6 separate regions of the Homo sapiens genome follow, and regions 2, 3, 4, 5 and 6 are each linked to region 1. Evidence: promoter capture Hi-C in 16 types of primary human blood cells and fetal thymus (Javierre and others, 2016). All regions are on one chromosome and are shown on one strand. Each heading gives the region's core, a stretch centred on a gene start or on the middle of the fragment in contact. The rest is flanking DNA. Distances are from core to core; before and after follow the strand shown. Region 1 holds the start of TMEM196 (transmembrane protein 196). Region 2 has its middle 57 kb from the start of ABCB5. Region 3 has its middle 110 kb from the start of ABCB5. Region 4 overlaps ITGB8 (integrin subunit beta 8). Region 5 overlaps LOC101927769 (a long non-coding RNA gene). Region 6 has its middle 43 kb from the start of ITGB8.

Evidence for each region. Contacts are between HindIII fragments. The CHiCAGO score rates a contact against its expected background, and 5 or more counts as called.
Region 2: a contact is called between a fragment that was not itself captured here and the fragment with the promoter of TMEM196 in region 1, in 7 of 17 cell types (total B cells, naive CD4 T cells, monocytes and 4 more). The highest score is 8.7, in total B cells.
Region 3: a contact is called between a fragment that was not itself captured here and the fragment with the promoter of TMEM196 in region 1, in 1 of 17 cell types (total B cells). The highest score is 6.0, in total B cells.
Region 4: a contact is called between a fragment that was not itself captured here and the fragment with the promoter of TMEM196 in region 1, in 2 of 17 cell types (total B cells and naive B cells). The highest score is 6.3, in total B cells.
Region 5: a contact is called between a fragment that was not itself captured here and the fragment with the promoter of TMEM196 in region 1, in 2 of 17 cell types (total B cells and naive B cells). The highest score is 8.6, in total B cells.
Region 6: a fragment that was not itself captured here is called in contact with the fragment with the promoter of TMEM196 in region 1 in 1 of 17 cell types (naive B cells); the score reaches 5.5 in naive B cells.

The regions. Positions count from the first base shown.
Region 1 is chr7:19,772,143-19,775,128 of GRCh38, forward strand. TMEM196 (transmembrane protein 196) reads right to left here and starts at 1,475. Exons shown (of 5, transcript NM_001363562.2): 1 at 408-1,475. The coding sequence starts at 554. All of the region lies in intron 1 of LOC107986774 (a long non-coding RNA gene), which reads left to right. The HindIII fragment of the contact is 8,082 bases long and covers 1-2,986 here.
Region 2 is chr7:20,556,727-20,559,712 of GRCh38, forward strand. No RefSeq gene overlaps it. Among named protein-coding and RNA genes, the nearest start is that of ABCB5, 57 kb to the right of the region's middle. RefSeq lists an enhancer at 2,756-2,986. The HindIII fragment of the contact is 1,127 bases long and covers 1,029-2,155 here.
Region 3 is chr7:20,504,574-20,507,559 of GRCh38, forward strand. No RefSeq gene overlaps it. Among named protein-coding and RNA genes, the nearest start is that of ABCB5, 110 kb to the right of the region's middle. The HindIII fragment of the contact is 1,050 bases long and covers 967-2,016 here.
Region 4 is chr7:20,344,641-20,347,626 of GRCh38, forward strand. The region is part of intron 1 of ITGB8 (integrin subunit beta 8); the gene reads left to right. Among named protein-coding and RNA genes, the nearest start is that of ITGB8-AS1, 14 kb to the left of the region's middle. The HindIII fragment of the contact is 3,054 bases long and covers 41-2,986 here.
Region 5 is chr7:20,307,009-20,309,994 of GRCh38, forward strand. The region is part of intron 4 of LOC101927769 (a long non-coding RNA gene); the gene reads left to right. Among named protein-coding and RNA genes, the nearest start is that of ITGB8, 22 kb to the right of the region's middle. The HindIII fragment of the contact is 1,183 bases long and covers 858-2,040 here.
Region 6 is chr7:20,286,240-20,289,225 of GRCh38, forward strand. No RefSeq gene overlaps it. Among named protein-coding and RNA genes, the nearest start is that of ITGB8, 43 kb to the right of the region's middle. The HindIII fragment of the contact is 3,649 bases long and covers 1-2,986 here.

The sequences.
Region 1 (2,986 bases), core at 225-2,724:
TCTTATTTTGATTTTCCTTGTAGAAGGAACAAAAGATTAAGTGAGCCTGCCCTTGACAGGTGTGACACCCCCCTCCCCCCGCCTCCCAAACAGCACCACTGGGCAAAGCAGCCTTTTGTAGAATCAGCCAGTGGAAACTAACCCCCCACCCCCACCTTTAAACAAAGCCATTTAATTTGGTCTTAAGCCCAAGTAAGAAACAAAACAAAACAAAACAAAACAAAACAGAAAACGAATAAAGGACAATATAAAGAAGCATAGCTTGTCAGCATGAACCTACATGCAAGCCAGAGATCTATGATTTTGTTTCCCAGGGAGGGAGTGACTAATGCGCGCACCCTGACCATCACCGTAAAGAGGTAAAGAGAGAGTGAAATGGCTCAACGTACACACACCCCGCTCCATACCGGGGACGAGTCTCCGAGCTGCGGCTTGTGCTCTCGGAGGGCCAGGCTGAAGCTGACCGCCCCCACGGCCACGCTGGACACCCCCAGCCCTATCTCCAGCACGGAGAGCACCAAGAGGCTCCCAATAATCTGACCGCTGGTGCACATCCTTCCTCGGTCATCTTCCTTCCAGATCAGAGAGGGAAATCAACCATCTACCTTTTTTTCTTCCACTATCCTCCTTACCCCTTCCACCCCCTACCAGATCCCAAAACTTTTCTTTCTTCAAGAGCGAGGCATTATCCACAAGGGCTGGATTTCCAGAAACGAAGACCTTCCCTGGCTGGGCCAGAGGCAAAGGAGCTGCTCCACCCCCTGGCACGTTCAGATAGGGATCGTAGAAGGATCTTCCTGGGTTCGGTGGTGCGAAGATTGCACACCGGTACCGGGGCTTTTAAGCAGCGGAAAACCTGGAGGAGCCCAGGGAGCTCCGAGCCTTGCTCCCCAGGCGCTGTCCAGAGTTCTGCCGCGTCCCAAATCTCCGCAGGGAAACCCGCGCCCTCCTCAGCCTACTAGACCCTTTCACAGGGTCCCTTCTGTTTTATTGCCGAGGAGAGGAGCTTTGCTTCCCGGAGATCCAAAGGGAACCGCTCCGAGTTTCTCTCTCCCTCTCCCGTTCGTCACCTCTCCTTTGTTTTCGTGGCAATGCGAAGTGCTTCTGCAAGTCTCTGGGTCCCCAGGCAGAGCGGGCGGATGATATTCAGCACCACGCTCCTTGCAGTTGCTTTGTCGCCAGAAAAAGCGACCTTGTCTGATGGCCTCTTTCCGTCTGGGTTTCTTCTCCCTCGTCGTCGTCCTCTTCCTCCTCCTTTCTCTCGAGCTGATTCTCTTTCATTGCTATGACCTCATTGGGGTTTAGGAGGTTGACGGAGGAGGAAAAAGCCTAATGTATTTGTAGATCCAGGACCAGTACTCTTGGCTGGCCTTTGATCCGCCCCGCCCCCGGACCGCAGCAACAGAAATCCAGGCGACCCCTACCTCCGCTTCTCCCCGTGGCTCCTTTCTGGGCTTCTATCCAGCGGAGAGGGGAGGCGATGCCTACGTCAACGCGGGCTCATTCTGAGAAAAACTTTCTTTAGCTTGTACGCGGGGTAGGGGGAGCAGTGAGCAAAGAAAGACGGAAACCCCAGGGGGGTGGAAAAAGCCAGACTCCTAATGTCACTAGGACTCTCAAGGCCCCTCACCAAGGAACTCCCCTGTCTAGGAGAGCTAGATTCAAGCCTGCTTACAAGGAATGTCCACTCCCGGCCATCACAGCCTGTCACCTTCCGTGTCGTAGGGCGAAGAAGCAGTTGATGGGGGCCACACCTCCACGGTGATTTTGTTCCTCTCCAGCCACAGACCCTTGCTTTCCCCTAGGAGCGTGACCACACGTTCTGGGAGGCATAGCTAGACCCAACTGAGCTGGGATTATATATTCTCAACAAAATTCAAGAGATGTGTATGCATTAGAACAGGCATTATTTAAAAAAAAAACACGTCTGGCTTAATGCACAATTATTTTTGACAGTCTACTTTCATCAGAATCTTTAGGGCAGGGGCCAGTCCAGCTTGGCCTGGGATATTTTTGCATTGTCTTTTGATGCCTATGAGACTCTAGATGTCTAGGGATCGCTGTGTTTAGACCCCATTTTCATTACTCTAGTTTTATGAAAAATCTCAAGGTATTCTATCAAGGAGATCTAGGAAGTGGGATAAAGAGAGGGTTTTGGGTGTGGGTCATCTTTCTCAAAAACTGGGTTCTCCAGTTCGACATGGACTGAAGGAAAATAGAACAAAGGAAGATGAGGTTAGGGTACAATAACACAAGACTAGGGAATGTTGACTTCTATACATCAGTGCAGTGCAGGCGCCTCTATTAGAGGCTTCTTAAAGCTCCCATGATGAGAACATAAAAGCTCGGTGACCTATAGCATAAGTTCTGTAACATAAATGCCAGTTTCAGTTTTCTTAAATTTGATTAAGGGCTTCTTTTAGAGTTTAAACTCAATTCTACACTATAATTTTTTTCATATGTTTATATTCTATAATTTAAAAATTTGAATCCTTTTCTCTTAAAAATAAAACAAATGTAAGGAAGAAGAGTTACAATTTGTTAGGCCTTAAAGAGCTTCAGTTATTGTGATATTTGGAGTACAAATAAACATTGGTACTGAATGATAATTAGTGGATTCATTTCTATGCTTTTAAATCCTCAAAGACATGCTAAAGTACCTCATTAGTGTATGGCTTTAATGATGTAAAGTTTATTTAATTTAAATAATACAGAAGTCATCTAAATGATCCAATTTATATGCATAAATAATACAGCATATATGTTGTTGAAGTTTTGCTTTGTGTTTAGTCACTTCTTTTCTTTAGGAAAAAAATGCTTCTCTGTTAGGAAGACAACAAGTTGTAATATTAAATGAATTGATTAATGGAGACATATAGGAAGGGAAATAAACTTTTGTAGAGAACACAGGGATGGTATTAACAATAGTTGAATTTCACAGAGAAAAAGAAACAAACAAAACATATATTGCGGTTAACATTTTATC
Region 2 (2,986 bases), core at 342-2,841, 780 kb after region 1:
GCAGAGGTGAAGAACACAATACGTGAGTAACATGAATGTCACATCTCAGAGCATCACCCATTACTGCCCTGCTGCCCAAAAGGTATACTTAAGAGGACCACAATTTGGGGCTGGAAATACCTAGGGAAGGTGAAACCGAACTGTGAATTCAAAGGGAATGACTAATATGGCAGCCAAGGAAGTATGGCAACCATGCTTTGTAAGCAGTTCACATGCAGGAATCCGATCGCAATCCATGGGGCATCCCATAAGACAAGCTGAACATTGCTAGGAAATCCACCGATGGCAATGGTCAACTTTTATGTGAAAAGGCTAACAGCTAACACCAGAGAGGACTATCTGCAGAGGATAGCACTCCAGCCACCTAGCCAGGGCTTAAGAGTAGGCTGTAGCCTCTGAGTCCCAGGCTATTTTTGCAAGCTTATTCTGACAGAGAACAGACCTATGACAGTGCATCTCAACTTTCTTACATCTTGCTACAAAAAGAAAATCATGGTATTTTTATCCTGAGAAGAAATGGATGAAGCTACTCATAGCAAAGGCTCTGACCACGCACCACATCTGTAACCCTCTACCTCCACATGACAGATAGGAAGCTCCAGTCTGCAGAAAAGTCTGAAGCTTGGTTCTCTAAATGTGGCCTAAAGACAGAGCCAGAGGGAAGGAAGTAAGAGGATCCTAAGGTTCAGACTCAGGGTTAGTGAGGGATCCAGTGTAACTGAGCTCTGCTTAGAAGGCAGATGGCTCTGATCATGCAAAGAAAAGACTTGAAGAGGACACTGAAATGAGCAGAGCAGGGGGAAAGAACAGGGAGCAAACAGGCTTGGGAAGTCAGAAAATTAAGCTTGCATAATTTTACCTAGGCTCAACAGTTGCAGTGTTCCCTTTAAAAAGAAAACATAATCATATTGTTCAAGCATTCATTCATGCAACAAATATCATTGAATCTGTACCACATGATTAATATAGTTTCAGCACTACAAATATACCCATGGGCAAAACAAACACGATCAGGTCTCTAACCTACAAGCTTGAGTCTACTGAGGAAGCCTGATATTAAGTAGTAAGTTCAGATTTTTTTCTCACACATTATGGTAAGTACTATATGGGAAAAGAACTGGATACTTGCTCTGAGGGAGAACAATAAAACCAAGAAACTAAGTACTTTAGATTAAGAGATTAAAAGATGACCTTTTGGAGGAAGGTATATTAAGGTATTCTAAGAAGACGCAGTAAGAAAACATTAGCAATTCTTTTAAAATGCTTTAAATATAAACAAAGTTTATTATTTATATATTATATATACATACAATATTATATATTGTTATGTGTGTAGTAATACATAGTAATATATACAGATGCAGGATTATTGTACAACAGCTAATGACAGACAACTAAAGCCTAGTTAAAAAAAACTGCTTATACTATGAAATATGAAACACCATTACTGGACTCTTACTTTTCTTCTTATATAGAGTAACAGTTAATATTTCATAAAAATATTTAAAGACTCAAGAGAAAAAGAGGGAAAAGAAGTTGCCAGATTTTACTTCTAAATGTATATACTTTTATACCTATGTGTTTCTACAAAAGAAATACTTAATCTTGGTTAATCTTTATGCAATCTTAATATATAACAGCTAATCTGACCAAATAAACTTAGATAGGCTTCACGTTCAAGGGCAGAGTTTTCAAGCTGATAAAAACATTCTGCGCACTAGTGGATGCACCTAGCTCTGAGAAGAATGTCAGTGTAATTGCAACTATTTATAGAATAAGCAGAGAAATTCATTCTGCTATAATATACAGTCTAATTTAAAATGTAGTCAATTCCTAAAAGAGGGTAAAAATTCTAAACTTTGAAATGATGCAACAGGAGGCTAGTGGGCTAATTTTGCTTTTGTATACAAAAGTTTGTGAGCATCTAGAAGGAAATATAAAGGGGTGCTCTAAGTTGCTAGTTATGTATCATGTACAATTTGTGAAAATCCACTCAGTGTACGTGAATGATTTGCATAAACTTTTCTGTTTGTATATTATATATCAATTAAAAGTGGCTCATTTGTTGTTTTTGTTTTGTTTTTAGTTTGAGGGGGAAAAATATCAAGTTCAGGGAAACTTTATCTGGGACACTAGAACAAACTCCTAAAAGGAAAGCTTGGAGTAACTTTCACAAAATTGGAAACTAGTTGGTAAGACAGTTCCAAGTATATTACTTATTGTAAATAAATATACAAGGTGCGATATACAAGAGGTGCACAAAAGCAAATAAAGTCAGAAATCACTGTATTTACCTAAAAGAAAATTTCACTGTAACTGCAGCCTTTAAAAATCAGTGTCATCCTTTAACCTGTATTCTAATCATATTACAGCTTTATCTCACATATGGTCTTCATTTGCAACACCTGGAAAGTTTTATATTTGTGCTTTTGCAATTTCAATCACTGATGCCTACGGCAACTACTCATAAAACTGTAAACACTGCACTTGCCTCTTTCAGTTATAAATAAAGAAGAAAAGTAATCGGATGCTTATGTCACAGGATTCTTAGGGTGTTTCTTTTCCAGCGGGAAAAGCTCTGTAACCGGTGGTGTCCTTGCCCGAGTTTTGCTTGAGCCTGCTGGGCTCATTCTGCCCACTCTGCCCGGCAGCCTGCGCTCACCTCATGCTACCAGCCCGGATCCCATGCCTGCTAAAGGTGAGCCACATGCAGAGTGGCGAGGGGTGTGTGGGTGAGCAAACGTGGGGTCCGGCCACTGTGCACAGCCAGGCACACTGGCTGCCGAGGGACACGCAGCTGTAGGCGCCAACACAGGTGTCGGCTCCCTGTGAAGCTGCGGCTGGACCAAGCATACTGCAAGCAGCTCCCGCTGCTGGCAATGGGGAACGTGGTGGCGCCCAGAAGCTTGGAGACTATAGGAACCGCAGAGTCCCAAAGAGGGTGTCACAGCCCTGGCTCGGGGAGCTCCTAGATCTGAGCTCCCTG
Region 3 (2,986 bases), core at 242-2,741, 730 kb after region 1:
ACTGCAAACTCCACCTCCCAGGTTCAAGCGATCCTCCTGCTTCAGCCTCCCGAGTAGCTGGGGTTACGCCTGGTGGCACATGCCCAGCTAATTTTTGTATTTTTAGTAGAGACAGGGTTTCACCATGTTGGCCAGGCTGGTCTCTAACTCCTGACCTCAAGTGATCTGCCCACCTCGGCCTCCCAAAATGCTGGGATTACAGGTGTGAGCCACCACACCTGGTCTCTTTTAGCATCTTAAATTATGGAGAAATGAAAAGGGCACCAAGAAAATAAATAAAAATATGGATTCTGTAAGAAAGGGGTACTGAAGTTTTGGTTTTGTTTTCTTTCTTTTTTTTAATCTTGCAAATAGAAGACCACTATATTAATGCCTGCAAGTTGATGAAAGATAGTGCCCAGTGAATATCTGCCAAAAATTGAAAAGGAATTTGGCTTAATTTGCAACAATAGGATAATGTAGGTTGAATACACCTAAAAAAGAACACCATATCGACTACAACAGTAATTAAGTAGTTCACCTAGGCAAGGCTGTGGCCTTTTTTACCTTCAGGGAAATTTAAATGAGAGTGTCTACTTAGATAAGTCAGGCTTTTACACGTCTCAGGCAATAGGGGAACCAAGTGACCCCATAAAGTCTCTTCCAGCCCTTGGATTGATTATCCATTAAGAGTAAATTTGAAATCACAAACTGAACACCGAAAAATTATAAGCAACTTTTAACTAGAATGCACATTTAGATTTTAATTGAGCCATACTGAAATCATGGTTCTGGCTGATAAAAGTATCTCAAAAAATAAATTTTAAAAAGATTAGTAGAAAACAAATATATATGGGCACATTTAGCCCCAAGCTGCCAGTCCAAGTTGTAATAATAGTATAAAAATTAGTCTGTGGTATAACAAGCAAATGGTTGTAGACAGAACTGGGCAGTATTTTTAGACATAAACCCCAAGAGAATTAATTAAGCTTTGAAAAACATAATTGAACTAGGTATTTTTATAAACATACTAGAACATCTGATGCATACACACGTGAATGTGCAAAATAGCTAATTATATACACTGTTTATAAGTCTGTCTCAGCAATAAAGCAGAGATTCCTCTATTTGTGGCCCAGTGAAAAAATTTGTTGCTTCTTATCCTTTTGTTTTGGTCAACATTTTAATTGTTCAGTAGCACTTATGGCATGAAACACCGAGGGGAAAAATAAAAGCTGTAAAACTCATATTCATTAGATCTCACTTATAATTTTGGACTTGTTTTGCGAACTTCACAAACTATTTATGAACATGATATATAAAATTTTTTTAAGTGTTTCGAAAATGTAAGGGCTTTAACCAAAAGAAACTCCTGAAATATTATTTCCCTTACTTAATAATTTAAAAGTGGCTGAAAAATGAGAAGTGGTCCACATTTTCACTTTCTTATGAGAAGCCAGCCCTTCTCATTTGCTAGACATTCACAACTACATATTCACTTAGACTGAAGGTAGGATATAATTAATTCCTACATTTTTTAATGTATCCATTCCTTCTACTAGACTATGTACTTTTATGAAGAGGACTGTATCTCTATATTCAGTGTCTGGCACATAGTAGGTATTCAATAAAGGCCAAGAGGATATTGAAAAAATGATTGAACACATCCCCTTGGAAATGAAGTACATCAAAATACAAGTATTTTCAGTGCAATTCTCCCTAACACTATTTCTTGAAAGGCCAAATGGTGAATGGGGTAAGATGGGGTCTGGCCTATGCGAAGAATGAGTCATTAAATGGCCTTGCAGATAAGGACAGAAATGCAAGTTTTCAAAGGACTCCTTAGAGCTTCCATCATGAAACAAGGTCACAGGAAGCAAGGGATAATTGATAACATCTAAAACCTAGAACATAGGGTTTTGGGGTAAGATATGAGATAGCGGGTGATATGTTTGGATAAATAGAGTATTAGAAAGAGTTCAGATAGTTCATACTTTAAAGAACTTATTATACAAAACTAAAGAGTGAACAAAGAGAAGCTTAAGGTACAATCAGTATTATTGAGCAACAAAGTGATATAAATCTTATCTTCGTAGGTGGCCCAGAAAACAGATAGTTTTGAAGATTAAAAAAAAAAAGGGAGAGAAAGACCACAGAAAATTGCATTAGTGGAGTTTTCAGACCTGACCCAGTGGAATAAAAATGAGGAGAAAATGTTGAAGTGAGGTTAATGAAATATTTTGTAGTTAAGAGTTGAAAAGATATGATGGCTGGTTAGATACAGAATGAGAGAGAATTTAAGTTTAAAATGAACATTTTTGGTTTGGGAAACTAGATAGGTGGTGATCTGTTAAAAATATGAGAAGTTTAACAGGTGTGATTTTAGGAGAGGACGGAAAAAGGCACTTGGAATGTGGATCTGGAGCCAAAGAGAAGGCTGGGAAAAAAGGACTGGGAAAAAAGACCGAGAAGTCATTAGCATGTGTGGGGTGTAAGTGTGTGTGTGTGTGCGCGTTGGAAGTGGAAGCCATGGAGTGGATGAAACTTGCAGCCCTCCCTTTCTTCAGCTGATTTGTAGGTACAAATATTCTTCTGGAGTAGGTGAGGCATGGGGATATTTGGTGGTAAGAGATGAATCGGAATGGCTTTTTTCCCCAAAGGTCCTCTGCTACCTACTAGATCTGGAGGTACATAACACAATGATGAAGAATTCAGAAAGTCACAATAAGAACAACTAAAGTACATTTAATCACAGCCCTGCCCTTGAAAATACCCACCTGGCAAGCATAATGCTATACTGTGACTTTACAAGAAGTAATCATTCAATCTATCCTTGTAACAGCCAGGAAATGAGTAAGATGTTAAATACAAGTCACATCTTTTGTTAAAAATCTCCTGTATACATAGAACACTACAGAAATATATACCACACCAGAAAAAAGTTCAAAATTATTTTTCTCCCATGCTAGTTTATATGTAGTTTTGATAGTAAGTTAAAAAGGTATAT
Region 4 (2,986 bases), core at 318-2,817, 570 kb after region 1:
GTGCAGAATGGCCAGAGGAGCAAGTGCAGTAGCAGGACAAAGCTTCCCCAGGGAGACGCACCCTGAGCTGAGTTCGAGAGTTGACCAAGAGAAGGGACAGCATTGGGAGAAAGTTACCTGAATGTCACAGAAGTAAACAGAAAGAGAGAGAGCACATACGATGTTTTGGGCAATGCAGGGGAGACACCCATTCATCCTCTCCTTCAGTGAATACATACTGAACTCTTACACTGTGCCTGGTATTGCTGTAAGCCTCGGGGATATGGCAGGGAACCAAACAAAAAGATCTGCTCTCATGGAGCTTTCGTTCTAATGGAGAGAGACAAGACATTTGACAAATTAAAGAAACAGAATGTATAGCACACCAGACAGCACTAAGTATCTAGCACCTTCTGTAGAGAGAAAGAAACCCAGATGGGTAGTCAAGAATACTGGAGAAGGAGGTATGATCTTAAGTAGGATAATTAGGAAGGTCTCACTGAGAAGGTGCTGAGCCAATTCCCAGGGCCTCAGGGAGGGAAATATGAACAATATATCATCTGCCTCAATGATATATAACTTTCTAGGAGGATATTGACATTGTAATCCAATAAATTCTATAATTTTAAAATCTAAGATGTGCTAATTATTTAATAAATATTTTTCAACAAGTGTGTGGAAAGTACCATTCAAAGTATGAAAACATTAGGAAACTAAAGGACAAAAGTTCTTGTCCTCATAAGTCTTATATTTTGGAGGAGGACAGACAAAATAAAAAAAAACATGGTTATACATAATTATCTAGTGTGTTCAAAGGTGGTAAGTGCTATGGGGAAAAGTGGAGCAGGGTTGGGGGAAGACAGAGTTGCCATTTCAAGTAGATTAGATGGGGTAAGCCTCATGAAAAAAGACCAGTGTTTGAGCCAAGCCCTCAAGACAGTAAGAGAGTTAGCCTTGTGGATAACTGGAGAAAGGGTAGAGAGATGAGAGGCTATGAAGCAATGTGAGAAATTTTTAATGCATAGCAGGATCGAAGGACTGGTAGTGGCAGATTGTTGGTATCTGGAGCCCAGGCAGAGTGAATCAGCTTGTAAGACAAGAGGTGGTGGTCAGACAGGGTGATATGTGAAACTGGAATTGTAGAGAAGTTGCAGTTACTGGTAATTACAAGGTCTAAATTTCTTAACATGGAAGCAAAGTAGCTAAATCAAGGTGGAGGACAAAATAATTAGAGGAGAAGAGAATAAGGAGCTGATGCATCTTGTATTGCAAAGATGATGTGTGTATATACAAAAATTGTCAGGAATTGACATAGGAGTATTGTTGGAGAAAATTATATCAAGCAAGGAGGCAACATTTTCTAAAAACGAGAAAGCATCTCCCTGTGGTTGGTAAATGTCAGTGAATGCCTGCAACAATTCAGGATGGTGGGTGACATAATGTAAGTTACAAGTGTCAAAGCTGGGGGTGGGATGATTAGGGGATGAGAGAGGGAGAAGTGCCTGTGAGTAGCAGTGAGGACTCAGGAAGACACTTATACATCTCCAAGCTCAAGGCTGTTAGGATTCTGGGAGAAACATCAGCGATTACTCATGAGGTCAGGGGAAGACAAGTTCTCAGGGGAGAGCCAGGTTTCTGTTCAAGCAAGACAAGAGAACATTCAGATAAGGGACTGGGATATGGGCAGTCCTTCTGGAAATGGACTATGAATTTCAGAGGGCACAGGGGATGGGTTTCTGGAGTTGTAAAGGAATAGGAGATAAGGAGAAAAGAGGGCTGTGCAGAGCCTTCTAGGGATTAGAATGTGTTGGGGGAATAAGGGTGCATCTGGGAGTCTTGGGCTTCTTGTAGAAACTGGTGCAATAAACAGGGATAAGTGAGATTAGTCTTTGGGATCTCAAGGTAGATAGTGGTGATGATACTGTCAGTGGCTGAGGGGCAAGGGGAGGTTCTGAGACTTGCTCTTAATTCTTAGGGAAGGAAGAGACAAGGTCTGAGGAAGCCTGACTTAGTTCTGAAGTGAGGCGTTGACTCTACCCCGTTTCCTGCCAAAAGCAACGTGGACTTTCTCTGGGTGTCTTAAGACACTCTTGACTCCAGATGATTAAAGTGATTGCCTGAGAAGTATATAACACCTGACGATTATACCTGAAGGGGGCTCCACAGGCAGAGAGGAGGCATGTACATTGACCATGACATAGGACTTTAGGAGAAAAGCAAAGGAGAGCACCTTGGAGTTAATGGCAGGTAGATTTGTTAGAACTTTATGCTATGGTCTAAATGTTTTTGCTTCTCCAAAATTCATGTGTTGAAATCTAATCATCAATGTAATGGCATTAAAGGTGGGGCCTTTGGAAAATGACTAGGTCATGAAGATAGGACCCTGGTGAATTGTATTAGTGCACTTATGAAAAAGGCCTGTGGGAACTCGTCTGTCCCTTCTGCCATATGAAGACACAGCAAGAAGGTGCCACCTATGAGGAAGGCTCCCTCGCCATACCACCACATCTGTTGCTGCCTTTGTCTTGGACTTGCCGGATTCCAAAACTGCGAGAAATAAATTCTGTTATTTGTAAATTACCCAATCTAAGGTATTTTGTTATGGCAGCCTGAATGGACTGAGATACTTTACTACTCAGGTGGTGGAAATAATTCCAGGCGTTTTGTTTTGTTTTGACTTGATTGTTTAGTAGGGTAGTAATGTGATCACTGTATCAGCAAAAGAAACTGGCAACAATGTATGTGGTGATTTTTAGTGGTAAATGGTGTTTGTAAGAGATTCTGAGAACGTTGTTACATTAAAGCAAATGATCGATAAGGAAGGCCTCAACTAGGATGGATCCATGGGAATGGAAATAGGGAGTGAGAAATACTAAAGACAGTAAATTAAAAGCAAAAAGTCTTGGTGACTGACAGGTTGTTGAGGCTGTGGTAGAGAGAGGAGTCAAGGTTGACCACAAAGATTTAAATCAGAATAGATGGGAAAATAATGTAATTAATGGAATAC
Region 5 (2,986 bases), core at 199-2,698, 530 kb after region 1:
ATGCAAATAATCACCACAATTAATATGTTTTGTGGATTTTAACTTTTTTAATGAAAACAAACTTTTGCATTTTCTCTAATGAGAAAAAAGTATAGTTTCCTTTTGTTTTATTTATTTTTTCATCATTTGATAAGGCACAGGATCAAGTTATTCTTTTTGAGATGCCATAATATGCTAGGTATTGGAATGGCCAGCTAGCACTTGCATTGTATAGTTAACATTGTGCTATAAGCGTGGTTCTTTCTAAAAGCTTTCAGTACTGTTTATAGTTTGTGCTACCCAGTTCCCATGGTAACGTGTTTGTTCCCATGGAGAAACAAAGTGAACACCTAACCAGAGCTGAACTTGAAGATATAAAACTTCACTCAGTAGATAATTTGCTCAGAGGCTATTAAGGAGGAGAAGGAGAAAACAGAAGAACAGAAAATATATCTAGGTTTCTAGTTCCAGTTCAAAGTTAAGAAACTACTGATTTACTTTGACCTGCTATGTAACAAATCATTCTTGGTGTCATTATTTGCAACTTTAAGGAGACCTTTTTTTTTTTTTTCTCAAAAGCAATTTTAAAAGTAACTACTTAGACAAAGGGCCCTTTTTAATGGTGATTTGATAGTTTATCTTAGCAATTTGGTCCTTGTAGTTGCAAACTGTATTTCCATATTTCAAGAATTTTTAGAATTTTCATAAAACCATCTAAATTCAAGTAAACTTGATTTCTTAAAAAAACTATAAACTAAAGCAATAAGAATGTGAGCAAATGATCATAAGATTATCTTTAATGAAAACAGATTCTTTGCTTTCTTTAATGCCCAGAATTTTTCAAGCCTAGCTATTGCCAGTTTATGCCATTTGAAAAAAGCTTGAAAGCTGCAAAAGGATGTAAATTTAGCTGCTTTGGTTTAACGTGAGGAAAGTTGATAGCCTTTGTTAAGGCTGACACTACCATGCCAAATTCCTAACAACGTTACAGCAGGACTTTGAATGCCAGTAAAATAATTCACATCCATTTGCAAGCTCCAGTCAAGTGGCATAAACTCCACTTGTAGAAGACAAAGCAAAATGACTGGGCTCCTCCCGTGGCTCTGGCTCTTCACTCTGCTGCCGCCCTCCCTCCCGAATGTTGATGTTTTCTCCCCCCACTTTATAATCTAGACACTTGCTCCCTTTCCATTTGATACTACTTCTTTGTTTGCTGTTCTTCAGCCCTCTTTGTGCTTTTCTGACCTCCTTTTTTTCCATTCTGTGCCGCTGTTCCTGTTCTACATTTCATCATTTTTTTCTCCGGCTTCACTTTTGTGCATTACACTCTTCCCACTTCAATCTTTAGCCATTTTTGTATTGTCCCGACTTTCATTCTTCTTATTTACCTTTAGTTTATATTCTTTCTGACCGCCTTTTCTTCTTCTCTTTGCAGCCCCTCTATTAGAAGTTCGGCATTTTGCTCCAACTTAAAAAAAAAAATGTATTGTTGCTGGATGACATTCTTTTCTCACTCCTTCTGTGTATTATTTTTCAATAGTTGTTTAAATCCCAGTCCCACTGACTTCGTGCAAAGGATTATGATTAAAGCGATTTTGAGTATTTCTTTAATATAGTAAAATGTGAAAAAAAGTTGCCTTAGAAAACAGCATTCTAAATAGACTGCCTTTAAAAATAAATAAATAAATAAATAAATAAATATCTGTCCCATTTGTAGATTCACAGGGAATAAAATCAATGAGATCTGCCAACTTCTATACTTGTCTACATCAGACATCATTCACCCCAATGAAATAGTGAAGAGTGGGACTCAAATTGGCAAGTCTATCCTGCTGAATTGTTGCCACTCAAGATAAAAATAACTTTCTCACATTGTATGGTCCACTAGCAAGCAGCAGAATAATGGTGTATCCCAAGATTAACTGTGGTTTCTGAAGCAATTATTGTAGGGAGATGGAACAGAAAGGTTTTTTCTCTTACTTACTTTTGTGTGGTATTGGAGACAGGAGGCATGTCCATCATTTTATACTGCTTATTACATACGAAAAATCAAATAATGAAAGCTTTCACAATACGGAGGTTTTCTCTAACCTCCTATCATCAAATAGGCATACACTTTGAATTGATTTTTTTTTAAGTTTTGGGAATTGGATGTTCATCTTTCTTTTATTGACTTTCATCTCATTTTCAAAAGTGTGCAATAGTATATTGCACGTGAAAGTAAATGGCCCACTAAGATTGAAATGCATTGCTTTGAACTAAAGAGATATAAATTCTAATATCTGAATTCTTCATGGCTATATACATGTATACTAAGTCCTTTTGCATAGTGGCTGACTCTTTACGCTTTTGGCATATTTGAAGTTAAATTTTAATTCATATTACATTTATTAAGTACTAAGAAGACACACTCACCTACTATTTTAGAATTGTTTGTAAGTTTTAGGTCTTGTAAGTTTATGAAAACAACACTGACACACCATAATATATACTGGTTTCATAGCACTTAACAGATTTGGTAAATTTTACCTACAAGAAAATCAGTTCTTTGAGTTTTTCTTAGGTTACTGATTTTGCATTTAAAAGTTTTTACCTTGATTAAAGACTCCAGGTTTTCTGGGGGACTGTGTAGTTGACTTAAAAACTAACCACTATTATACAAAATTTTAGTTGAGAGAAACTATCTGTGTCTTCTTTTTTTTATTGCTATGATTATAGAGCCAACACACACAATCATGTAGGTTGAGCACTGCCAGGGAGCCCTTCTCAACCTATGTGTGGGGCTTCATATATAGTGGGATTCATTTTGCAATTCCCACTGAAACTATGCCATGAGTTTGCTCATCAGATGGAAAAAAAATTTCTGCTTTGATAATGTCGAATGAAGTATTGCTTTACTCTGTAAATGTATAAAATGTAACATTTTAGGGTTGAGGGGACACTTAGAGATCTTCTGGTTCTCCTCTTTGGTTTCATAGAGAAGGAAAATGCCCCCACAGAAATCATG
Region 6 (2,986 bases), core at 306-2,805, 510 kb after region 1:
TTTTTTAGCAAAAGACGTTTAAACACATGGTGGAGGAATCTTAGGGAAAATCCAGAGATTTAATCCAATTTATTCCAAGAAAGGGACAGGAAATTAAATTAGTAAACAAATTCACTATTTATATATTTGAAGTGCTGTTGGTTTTGTCCACAGTTTGCTCATTGGTGATACAGGCATGTTTTCTAGATGTTTATGCTAAAATTGTCTACCTGGTCTCATTATAGTGTATTTGTTTTGAGAGCAGAAAATTTTTCTTTTCCAGATTTTAGAAAATCCCCATCGTATTTTGTATGTCTCACTATGTACAATTTTCTAAAGCATAATAAATTATACAGAGTATATAATTGAAAGATGAATAATTCTCACAGCACCTTAATTGACCCAATTATTCATTATAGACAAAATTGGAGGAAAATAAAAGAGCAAGAAAGGGTATGACATCATTTGCGGATTATGTAACAGCTAGGCTTGATTTTATTGTTGGCTCTAGTTAAATATTTTTTTTAAATAAAACAGTGCCTACTTCTCCAACATTAACTATACAAAAAACTTGACTTCAGTATTTATCAAGGTATAGGCCTATATAACATTGCTTGCTTCCTTGAATAAGTAATATTTGGTGTCTTTGTCACTTTGGGCCCTTAGCAAGTGATGCTGTAACTGGCAGTGAATAATTTAAGTCACTGCTCTTGAGAAGCCTCTTTTGTTTGCAAGGAGCAAAACCCTACTCAAACTAACTAGAAAAGCTAAAAGAGAGGTTTATTGGAGAATATTAAAATACCCAGGAATCCTAAGACACAAAATGAAGCATAGTTGGCTTTTTGTGACCTGGGACTAGAAGTAGAGAAACCGAGGTCTTTCAAGAACTGCCTTTATAGTTTCTTGTTATTTTCTATTTTACTCTACGAATATGTTCAATATGTAATTTTTTATCGCCTTCCTTTATGGCAACAAGCCCACTCTATATTACCTAACCTATCAGTTCTAACTCTAAATTCTGAATTATCCGTGTTCCTCAAAACCTTAAGTCCAAATTTCTGAGAAAGAAATGTGATTGTTCTTTTCTTTAATGTCTGCTCAGAGTCTGTCACAATTGACTGTCATAGACAACTAGTCAACCTGTGGATTCATTTAGCTGTGACTATAGTAGGGTAGGGTCATGTGATCAACTAGAGCAGCAGGTGGGGAGATAATAGTTAACACCTCTCATGAAACTGGTTAAATATAAACCTCAGACTGGTAATAGATAAGAATCTGTTTCTTCCTGTGTAAAAAACAATGTTTACTTAATATTTGCTTTTCCTAGCCTTAAGTTGTATCTCTAGGAATAAATGGGTTAATACAATGGAAAACACATGAGCGATCATAAAGTTTTGGAATACAATCAATAACAATACATCTACTGTCAACCAAACTGTTGATAAAAAGACAAATTACACATAGGTGAGAATCATAGTCTCTCACGATGTTGGGGGACTTCATATAGATGATTTTCCAGTGTAACTTAGATGAAATCAAATATCTGACATAATTATTAAGTATTTGTCTTCCTTCCCTGGTCACTCAAGTCATGGTGCCTCTTCTAGAACAAGTGAAGAGCTGAATCTCTCACCCTGATAGACAAAGTCTGAGGGATATACACTGATTTTTACATTTTGTTCAAATGTATCTCTTATTGCAGATTGAATTTGGCTTGGAATTTGGGTGCTTGCTTTGACTTTTCATTGTTTCCTTATTTGTATTTTATTTTTCTTTAGCTGCTGCTGGTTCTGGTGGTTTGTTTATTTTGTACATTCTATTTTCTAGAAATCTATCACTGGTGAGTGCTTAAAAACAACACAGACCAGAGAAGAAAGAAAGGAGTAAAGAGTTCAAGCCCGGATAACAATGGGACTAGTCCAAAAGTTTGCAAAAACAAAAGGAGATCTGTTGAAAAATAAGTTATAGATGCTTGAAGTCTACATTTATTTCTTCTTATTACTCATTTTGGAATGGATGCTACATTCTTTGTAGGTTCAAAATATCCTCAGAATCCCAAGTATGTGATAAGACCTAGAAAGGGCATAATTAAGCCTTTGTCATTAAGACAGATCTTTTATTCACCAATTTTAACAGTGTATTACAGCCAGGCACAGTGGCTCATGCTGTAATCCCAGCACTTTGGGAGGCCGAGGTGGGCAGATCACCTGAGGTCAGGAGTTCGAAACCAGCCTGACCAAAATAGTGAAACCCCGTCTCTACTAAAAATACAAAAATTAGCTGGGCATCATGGCATCTGCCTGTAATCCCAGCTACTAGAGAAACTGAGGCAGGAGAATCGCTTGAACCTGGGAGGGGGAGGTTGCAGTAAGCCAAGATCATGCCATTGCACTCCAGCCTGGGCAACAAGAGCAAAACTCCATCTCATAAAAAATTAATAATAATAAATAAAATAAAAACATATTTATGTTTTCAGCAGTTTATATTTATATACGACCATCATTCTCCAAATTTAATTATAATTGCCCATGGAAAATATTTGTTGTAACCAATCACGACACAGACTATAGAACTAGCTAGGGTTTTGAAAAGCAAATTTCAGCACTCTTCACAATAGCAAAGACATGGAATCAATCTAAATGCCCATCAATAGTAGACTGAGTAAAGAAAATGTGGTACATATACACCATAGAATACTACGCAACCATAAAAAACAATGAGATCATGTCCTTTGCAGCAGCGTGGATGGAGCTGGAGGCCATTATCCTAAGTGAACTAACACAGAAACAGAATATAAAATGCCACATGTTCTCACTTATAAGTGGAAGCCAAACACTGAATACATGTGGATACAAAGAAGAGAACAACAGACACCAGGGCCTGCTTAAGGGTGGAGGGAGGGAGGAGGGTAAAGATAAAAAAATCTACCTATTAAATACTACGCTTATTACCTGGGTGGTGAAAGAACGTGTACACCAAACCCCAGTGACACACAACTTACGTATAC